3 separate regions of the Homo sapiens genome follow, and regions 1 and 2 are each linked to region 3. The links are contacts of gene promoters, found by promoter capture Hi-C in blood cells and fetal thymus (Javierre and others, 2016). All regions are on one chromosome and are shown on one strand. Each heading gives the region's core, a stretch centred on a gene start or on the middle of the fragment in contact. The rest is flanking DNA. Distances are from core to core; before and after follow the strand shown. Region 1 overlaps LOC107985410 (a long non-coding RNA gene). Region 2 overlaps STX16 (syntaxin 16). Region 3 holds the start of ANKRD60 (ankyrin repeat domain 60).

What was found. Contacts are between HindIII fragments. The CHiCAGO score rates a contact against its expected background, and 5 or more counts as called.
Region 1: a contact is called between a fragment that was not itself captured here and the fragment with the promoter of ANKRD60 in region 3, in 2 of 17 cell types (megakaryocytes and endothelial precursors). The highest score is 7.8, in megakaryocytes.
Region 2: a fragment that was not itself captured here is called in contact with the fragment with the promoter of ANKRD60 in region 3 in 1 of 17 cell types (endothelial precursors); the score reaches 5.2 in endothelial precursors.

Annotation. Positions count from the first base shown.
Region 1 is chr20:58,645,395-58,648,094 of GRCh38, reverse strand. The region is part of intron 1 of LOC107985410 (a long non-coding RNA gene); the gene reads left to right. Among named protein-coding and RNA genes, the nearest start is that of STX16-NPEPL1, 4.5 kb to the left of the region's middle. RefSeq lists a silencer at 308-602. The HindIII fragment of the contact is 2,566 bases long and covers 73-2,638 here.
Region 2 is chr20:58,674,634-58,677,679 of GRCh38, reverse strand. STX16 (syntaxin 16) reads right to left here. Exons shown (of 9, transcript NM_001001433.3): 9 at 1-1,493. The coding sequence ends at 1,389. The region is part of intron 8 of STX16-NPEPL1 (STX16-NPEPL1 readthrough (NMD candidate)); the gene reads right to left. Among named protein-coding and RNA genes, the nearest start is that of NPEPL1, 17 kb to the left of the region's middle. RefSeq lists enhancers at 803-1,327, 1,328-1,853. The HindIII fragment of the contact is 2,189 bases long and covers 585-2,773 here.
Region 3 is chr20:58,227,218-58,230,250 of GRCh38, reverse strand. It overlaps ANKRD60 (ankyrin repeat domain 60), which reads left to right and starts at 1,598. Exons shown (of 4, transcript NM_001304369.2): 1 at 1,598-2,027. The coding sequence starts at 1,598. The HindIII fragment of the contact is 6,586 bases long and covers 627-3,033 here.

The DNA.
Region 1 (2,700 bases), core at 106-2,605, 420 kb before region 3:
CATTCCCCCATGGCCAAGTATGTGTTTCCTTGGAATTGAAATCTAGGTTGATGGTTTTACATTTTAAAAGCTTTCATTGTGACTCATTCTTGGCCTGGGCTAGGATTCGGTAATACTCCTCGGGCTTGGTGAGGCTCCGTGTCCTGTTTCTTGGGCTTCATACCCACTTTCTAACATTCTGCCAACGAATCCAATAAGTCACTTTTGGGGACAAGTGTTTCATTGTTTTCTTGTCATCTCATTCAGTGCAGGAGGAAGCCCCATTGAAGCCAGGCCATGGCTTGGGCAGGTGCAGGTTTTCAAGTACTGAGAGGGGATGGTTAGCTCAACAGGTCAGCAGTGGGACACACACCCTTTGGTGAAAACAATTTAAATGAGATAGGGCTCATGTAAGCCCTTATACAACCTCAGCATAGAGTAAGTGCGCCACAAATGGGCAATATGATTTATTACAGCAGTAGTCTTACTGTTGGAAAGCTCACGTGGGCTCTGCTCTCCCTGGAAGGCATCATAAACTCCAAAGAGAATGGCATGGTATTGAGAACTGAACACTTGGAAATCTAAGCACGTTTCCGAGCTTCTTGTTCTGGACCTTGGGAATCCAGATGTGTCTGCAGTGCACACTCATGTGGAAGAGGGGGCTAAACCATCTCAAAGACACCTTTTAACATTGGTCTTTCTCCCACCTATAGAAAGACAGATGGTTGTTTGCTTATCAAGCAGCAAAAGCCCCCAGGCCTAACATATGTCTCGTCTGCACAGATCTGACAGACAGATTCGGGCCAGGTTCGGGTAACAGGAGTTGTGTGTTCTGTGTCCCCAAATAGTTCCTCAAAACCTTGAGTATTTCCAACAACAGAAAACTCCCTATCTGGGTCTGTCTTCAGCTATGATGCCTCTCCCAAGAAGGGAGACTCTGGAGAGAGGCAACACTTTTGTTTTGTCTGGAGTCCCGTAGCTTTTAATACCAGACAATTCAATACAGTAGGCATTTCTAAAAATCTACCAGTGGCTGTGCCTATCTCTTGCCAGGCACTGCTGAAAGAATGAAACAGCAAAACTCTTGCCTTCAGGGAATTTGCATCTCCACTGTCTCTACCCAAATTCTGGTTCTCATCGTGTACATTTTCCCAGCAGCCTGCTAACAACCACCCGTCTCTTCCCTCCTCATCCTGCAGCCACAGTGACCTTTCCAAAGCATAAATCTGATCATGTCACTGCCTGATTGAGGCCCTGAAACAGCTCCCTCTGGCCCATGCCAGCCGATCTCAAATGACGCTCAGCAGAAAACAGGTGCTCTAAGTTGAACCAAGCTGGGCATCACTAATATTAACTAATGATGGACTTTTCTTGGTTGTCAGAAAAAAAAAAATGAAGCTAATTAATGGAGTAGTCTCCATCTTAAGTGTTTCTCTTCTCGCTTTCTCTTAAACCTTCAGTCCCTGCCACCACTTGGCTGTATTAGAATATAGTATAAGACTAGATCTGATTTATTCCAGAATCATGGATTTCAGTACAATTTTTTTCCCATAGATCAGTATTTCCTGGAGTTCTGCATTTAGGTTTTCTACACTTTCCACATGGCGGAGTGCCCCCTGGGCATTCAAAGCCCTGCCCAACAGGCCCCACCTAAATGGTGAGCTTTTTTCTTTCCAGGACTTGGCTCACAGGCCTTTCTCTGCCTGGTGGGGGTAGTGGCGGGGGATGTGTCTTGCCCCTTCTGCTTGGTGAACCCTTCATTGAAGACAGCACCCCCTACACTGTCAGGTGTGATAAATGTTTGCGGAATGGATGACTGGATGGATTAATGCACAAAAGGTGAGATTAACTATATTAAGTGCTAGAGAATACCAGACAGTCAAGACTCAAAATGGGTGGAGAGATTAGGGCAGTTCTCTGTCCCCCTCGCTCACCCCTTTTCAGCCACACTAGCCTTCCCACCATTCCTCACACCTCCTTAGCACCTGCTTTGCTCTCCTTCCTAGGTTCTTCAAATAACTGGCTCCTTCTCACCACTCTTGTCTCAGACTATTCAATAGAAAGTAATCCTCCTACCCTGTCCACCGTGTGGGGAGAGGACTCTCCTCTCCCAGGGCCCTTATGTCACCATCATACCAGGTGCCTGCCCATGCTTGGTCAAGTTCAAGACTGAAACAATGTCTAACATCGTGGCTTTTGGTCTTTGAGGCCAAGAAGAGGCCTCTTGGGTCACAACACATGCCAGCAAAGCATATCTGCATTTTACTTTTTTTCCAGGATGATGTGGACACATGTGTACTCAAATAAATCAACCCTCCCATCTTAACCATCTCCCTTGGCAGGAACAATAAGTTAATGTGCCAAGCCAGGACTGACCTGGATGACTCAAACCCTGAAAAACATAAAGGAAATCATTGTGTTTTTCCGCTAGCAGGTATTGAAACATAGCCAACTCACTCGTTTCTAGTTTTTTTTCCCATGGCCATGACCACTGACCTGCTCGTGGTAATTTGTGTGATGTGCAAGTGCAGGGCTGGACTCCAGCCTTCTCCAGATGCTGCCTGTGCAACCAGCAGCCCCTTATTAGCTATGTGGCCATGCATGGCTCAAGACTCCTTTGGTCACAAGGGACAGAACCCAAATCAAATGGACTTAAGCTTCAAAGCAAATGTGTTGGCCCAAACATCTATGCGTAGCTGGATCCAGAGGAGGAAACATATC
Region 2 (3,046 bases), core at 430-2,929, 450 kb before region 3:
ATATTCTTCTTAAACTTTTTAAGAGAAGCAAAAACAATGGAAAAGCCATTAAAATTTACACAAAGACCATTAAAACTCTACTAGTGTCAATTAAAACAAAGCCAATAAAACATGAACAACTTCAAAGTTACCATCACTTTCCACACTGTTCTACAGTTATAGGAATATATTCAAGCACCATATTGATAATAGGTAGGTAAACGATGAAGTCCTACTTTGGCGGTCTGACCCACGCTCACACAAACGAGGAGCTTCCTAGTCAAGATGCCCCCAGTCCTTGGCAATGTGCCTGCTTCCTGGGCATTGCTCAGTGGCAATGGAAGAGCCAATAAATCAAATCGCTGGTGGAATATTTTACTTTGAAATGGAGTGATGTTTGGTTAATAATTTGAGATCCACTAATCCTAAATGGGGTGACCCATTTAAAATGGCCTCTGTGTAAATTCACAGTTCATTAAATAGAGTCTGGTTTGAACAGGTCATTATGTAGTTAGTATATAAGTAATGGATTGAGCAAGGATGGCTGGGGATACCCATGGGGACACACTGGCTGAGTCTGGTGGCTTTCATAACACTGTCAAGCTTTCTTTTAATGTGAGATTCATTTAAATCACCAACTTAAATTTAGGTGGTTTTGCTTAGTAACCTCTTTTGGTTTACAGTAGAAAATGCAGTGCAAAAATTTTAAATGAGGAATATTCCATTTACAATTAATTTAAAACTTATGAAGCTGTTTTAACTGGCCCATCTAAATGTGTTAATTAACATCAATGATGGTTTCTTATTTTTCACACTTTGTTACTCTGATCATTAACAGTGATGGAAAAGCTAAATTAAGTTAATGGGGAACGGATTATAAATTCTTAAAGGACTTCTTAGTTTGTTTTCAACTGGAAAATATATAGAGAAAGATGAAGGGGCATTTTTGCCTCTACTCATCAATTTTTGGTACCAAATTTCTTAAAAACCAGATGGTTTAAAGAAAATTTTTCCAAAAATTATGTTAACATTCTGCTCAGACATGGCTGCTAAAAAAATAGCATATACACATATAATACTGAACAGCTTCTGCAGTGCCTGTAAACTCTCAGCTCATTTTCTCTTTCTAAAAAAAATATATATTATAACTGATCCCAGAACTCAATCTCTATTGTGCAGCAGTATCAAAGGTCCTTAAATTCTCAACAATGAAGGAAAAACAAAAACCCATTCCCCGGACCGCTTGAGCAGGACTAGGGAAGGAGGAGTCCGTGGATGCAAAGGTTCGCTGCCCCGACGCCCTCAGATTCCTCGAGGCTGCACCTCTGCGGGCAGCTGGCGGGGCGCAGGCCAAGCCCCTCACACCCGGGAGATCCACACGCGCGGCACACACGAAAACCCAATGCCACTTATCGAGACTTCACGCCAACGAGGACAACAATGAGCACAATGATGATGACAAATAATATTAAAATCACAAGCATCTTCCGATTCTTCTTTTGATACTGTTCTGCCTACAAAAAGAGGAGGGAAAAAAGGCCGTCATTTTCCCCAAAATCCCAAATCAAGTCCCACTCGTTTCCAGAATGAGGCTTCCAGATCTCTCTGCACAGTGACTGAGGTCTCTGCTACAGGCTACATGATTGTAATCCCTCCAATCAATCCCACGGAATTCAATCACCAGGAGTGGAAGAGCCCCATGATCCTGGTGCTGCTTATTTACCCTGGACGTGGAAATGGATTTGTTGGAAACCTACTACTAAGACAAAGCCTGACAGGGAAGTGAAAGCTCATGCTTCCGGGTGCAGCTGGGCCTGCTTCTCCCGGCTTTTCCTCCTGCAGGCCGTGGCAAGTGCCCCTGCAGCACGGGTCGCCTGTTCCCGGTCCGTGTTCCTGGAGCGAATGCACAGTTCCTTCACCGCGGAAGGAAACAACGGGCTGGAGGACCGTACCTGGCAGGTAGGCAACAGACACCCGGAAGAGGCCCCATTTCGACCTCCCCTAAATTTGGAAACAAAAACTCATCCTTTGAAATAAAAACAGACACGTGTGCCCCATGGATGTCATATGCAGAAAGATCCCTCTGAGGCGCGTCCTCCCAGTGCCGCTAACGATACAGCAAAGGAGCCCTCCAAGCTCAATCTGGGGACGAGGCTGCACCCTGCACATCTCTTCACCTTAACACCGCATCCTGGAAGCTCGGCAGGAGCGGGAACTCCATCATGCCTGCTAGAGAAATGCCAAAGGGCCCCACCTGGCTGGCGAAAGACGCAGAGCACTGAGAAAGGAGAGCCAGAGGACAGCAGAGTTCAGAGGGCGCCGGGAGGCACGTCCAGGGAGAGCATGCGCTGCCTCTTCCAGACCTTGCTATGGCACAGGAGGGAGGAGGAGACAGCGGGAAGGCAGCCCTGGCGAGAATGGCAATCTCTCCTGCTCCATCCCCCGCGGTGGGCTTGTTTCCTAAGTGAGCCTGCCCGCCCACCTGGAGGAGCCCCTCATCCACCAGGAGGAAACATCAGGCACGGGGACAGCACCGAGAGTCCGGTCATGGGGAGCAGCTCCCGACGCTCAATCACCCTTAGACTAGCCGACTGCCGAGCACGCGCGTGCTGCCTACAGCCTTGTGGCTGGAGGGAAGATGGAGCACGCTGACTTTTCTAATAAGTAACCCAGAACACCAGGGAAGCCAATACTAAATAATATACTGTAAAACCTCTCAAAATGATTTATAAAGTAGAACCTAAAACAAAATTTTTAGTTCCCACTAGATTTGCTCACTCCCGCAGAGAAAGCTTTTCCTTTTATCTGTGTTATATTACAAAACATATTTCACTAGTTTTTATTTAAGAAACTTCAAAACCAATGCATAATTCAGCAGCACATCAAAACCTGGGTATTACAGAGTGAGAAACTTAAGTTAGTTTTCACTTTTAATAGACAGGGCTTGGCAACCAAATTAATCTAAATGCTTAAAAAAACCCTGCATAGACAAGGTCAGACTTCTCTTCCCACCACAGGCTGGAGTCTCATATCCACCTACACATGGCAACAAGCCCCCTGAAAAGAC
Region 3 (3,033 bases), core at 349-2,848:
TTAGGCAGCGTCGGCAAAAAGTGAGTTAATAAATCAGAAGCTACATATTAAAAAAAAAATCAGTCAATCCGTCGTGTGTTTAATTCTTGCCTAAAGTAAATGGAGATATTGTTTTGCTTTGGTAACCAGCAATTTTTAATTTTTTTTTATTGCCCGCAAATTGAGATTGTTTTGTTAAAATCTGTTGATCTAGCAGCAAGTAGAATTATTCAACTGGAATCTTGTATTCTATTCAGAGCTTAATTTTCCGTTAAGGAAAAAAATGAGCTTCAGTTTGTGTTGTGATGTGTATAATTTGCATGCTGAATCACAACATGCTTGGAGAGATTGTAGAGACTCTTTGGTAAATAATCTAACCTTTACAATTTCCGTTTATATGTTAACATTTTTCTATAATATGAGTGCCTTTCCAATGCACAGATATTTTTTATGGCTGTAATTTCTCTGTAAAAATAATTTTTAAGCATACATTTTATTCTTTTTTTGCAACAACCGAGATTTTTCCAAGATTGTTCTGTTTCCCCTCGCCCTCCTAGCTCCCGCCCCCGTCACTTCGGCGCTTGTATTTTCTAATTATTCATGGGTGCCATGTTGAGTGTTTGTAATTTGACCACCACAGGTAAGCTTCCTGTTTACTTGAACACTCAGCCTCATCTCCGGTGAATGAAGGGAAAAGCACAGATGGGTTTCTCCCAGGCACAGCTCACTCCAAAGGTGTCTTCATAGAGCCAACCCAGCCTTTCTCAAGGGAGCATTTCCCCACTTAATGTGTTTATCAGCATCTTTCTTCCGCCAAGAATTCAAGAGCATTTTCAAAATTGATAGATTTTGGTGCAGTTTTGCAAGTTTCCGTGGAAGGCTGTCTCCCGCTTCTGGGATCCACCCCCATGTCGGGACCAGATCGGCTGCAGGGAGTCATGTTTATGAAATGTTGGTGGTTTTTTTTTTTTTTCATTCATACTAGAAGTGTTTTTATAACGAAAATCTGCACTTTACAACTCTGCAGGCCATGCATGCAATGGTGATTTACAGCCTTGTTTACGTGTAATTCCTCCAGGTGATTTATCCCAATTTATGCAAAGATCCTATTTTAAACAGACACGGAGAAGTGGTAACCGTTTCCTAACAGCAGCAAGAATGCCCCTTCCGTTTGCCTGGTGAAAAGAACTGACATTAACAGCAGCTTGGAGGCTTCGAGGAGGTGGGGACGTGGCCTGAGCTCGGGACGGGGGCCCAGTGCGGGTTGTCGGAGCGTGGCTGCCCGGCGATGTCTCTGTATTTATCAATAAATCTCCCGGTTGCTCTGGGAAGCACTTATGTCCTGTTCCATTATTTAAGAACCGTCTCCCGCGGCCGCGTGAAACTGCGGCTTTGTTCATCGCGGAGCGGGAAAGGACTGCGGGACCTTGGGGGGCCGCCCGCCCATCGGTCTCCCTGGAGGCTCGGGCGGCAGGCAGGGAGGGGCCTCGCCTTGCGTCTGGAGGGGGCGGTCCTGGCGGGGCCTGGGCGTCACAGTGGGGCGGGGGGCGCATGGGCCCGCCTTGGGGCGTCAGGGCGGGGGCGGCGATGACGCGTGGCCACCGCACTCGAGCCGCGGATGACGCGCGGCCGCGCCTGGGGGATGCGGCGGGCGGCGGCGGGGGCGGGCGGAGCGCGGGCGGCGGGGCCAACTGGGGGCGCCTCTCGCCTGCACCCCAATGCGGGACGCAGGAGCGGTGCGCGGGCCGGGGCTCAGGGGTGCGGCGGGCCCAGGGTGGGCTCGGCGGACTCGCGGGCCCTCCCCGCGCAGCCCCTGGCCTGTGCCCGCGGCCGGAGCCAGCGGCTCGTCTGTGACCCGAAGGCCGCGAGTGCCTTGCCCGACTTGGCCCCTGACGTCTTCGTCCTGCGGGTGCGGCTGGAGGAGACGGGGGAGATGTTCCGAGTGGCAAACTGCCGCGGCGACATGACCGTGCGGGAGCTCAAAGAGGAGCTGGACCTGATGGTCGGCATCCCCTTCAACCTCCAGCGGCTCCAGTACCTCGACGAAGGTGGCTCCTGCCCTGACTCCTTCCCTGGCCACATGCAAGGGCACCCTGTCCACTTCTGAAGTGGATTCCCAAAGGGAAGCCTGCTTACGTGAGAAACCCCAGATGTCAAAGCAAACCCCTGAAACCCAACCACCCTGAAACCCAGATGGAAGGGCCACTTAGGGTCCTGGCCACAGAGGGACTTCCCAATCTCAAACACACGGCGTTCAAATTGGACTCCCAATCAAGGCAAACCTTGTCCACAGCAGGACCCTAATCCACAAGCAGGTCCTGCCTGGATCGGGCTGCATCTGCCAACCCTGAGCAAATCCTGTCCAAGCCAGGACCCCCCAGAAGCCAGACCCTCAGGCTCCCCATGTCTTCATAAGGAACCCAGGTCCCAAAGCCAACTCTGTTCATGTAAGACTTGTCTGAAACAAGGCCTGTCCTCAGCAGAACCCCCAAACCCAAGGCAAGCCTGCCCATGTCAGTACCCCAAACTCAAAGCAAACCCCAAGTCCTCCTCCATGCTGGTCTTGAGAACATTAGAACCCCAAATCCTCTAGCCAACCATGTCCACGCAAGCATGCCAAACCTGAAACAAACCCTGCTGACCTCAGGACCCACAAATCCAGAATAAAATTGCCCAACACCGAACCCCAAATCTCTAGGCTAACCATGACTACTTCAGAACCCCAAATCCTCCAGCTACCACATCCCCCCCAGGATGCCAGGGCTTGAACAAACCTTGACCACCTCAGGACCCCAAAATCCAGAGCACACATGCCCAACTGAACCCCAAATCTCCAGGCTACCCATGACTACCTCAGAACCCCAGATTTTCCAGCCACTTTTGTCTTGCAAGGATGCCAAATCAAAACAAACCCTGTCCATCTCAGGACCCCAAAATCAACAAACCAGCCCAAGACTCAACCCCTAATCTCCAGGCTAACCATGACTACCTCAGAACCCCAGATCCTTCAACAACTGTGTCCAGGCAAAGAGGTCAAAGCTGAAACAAACTCTG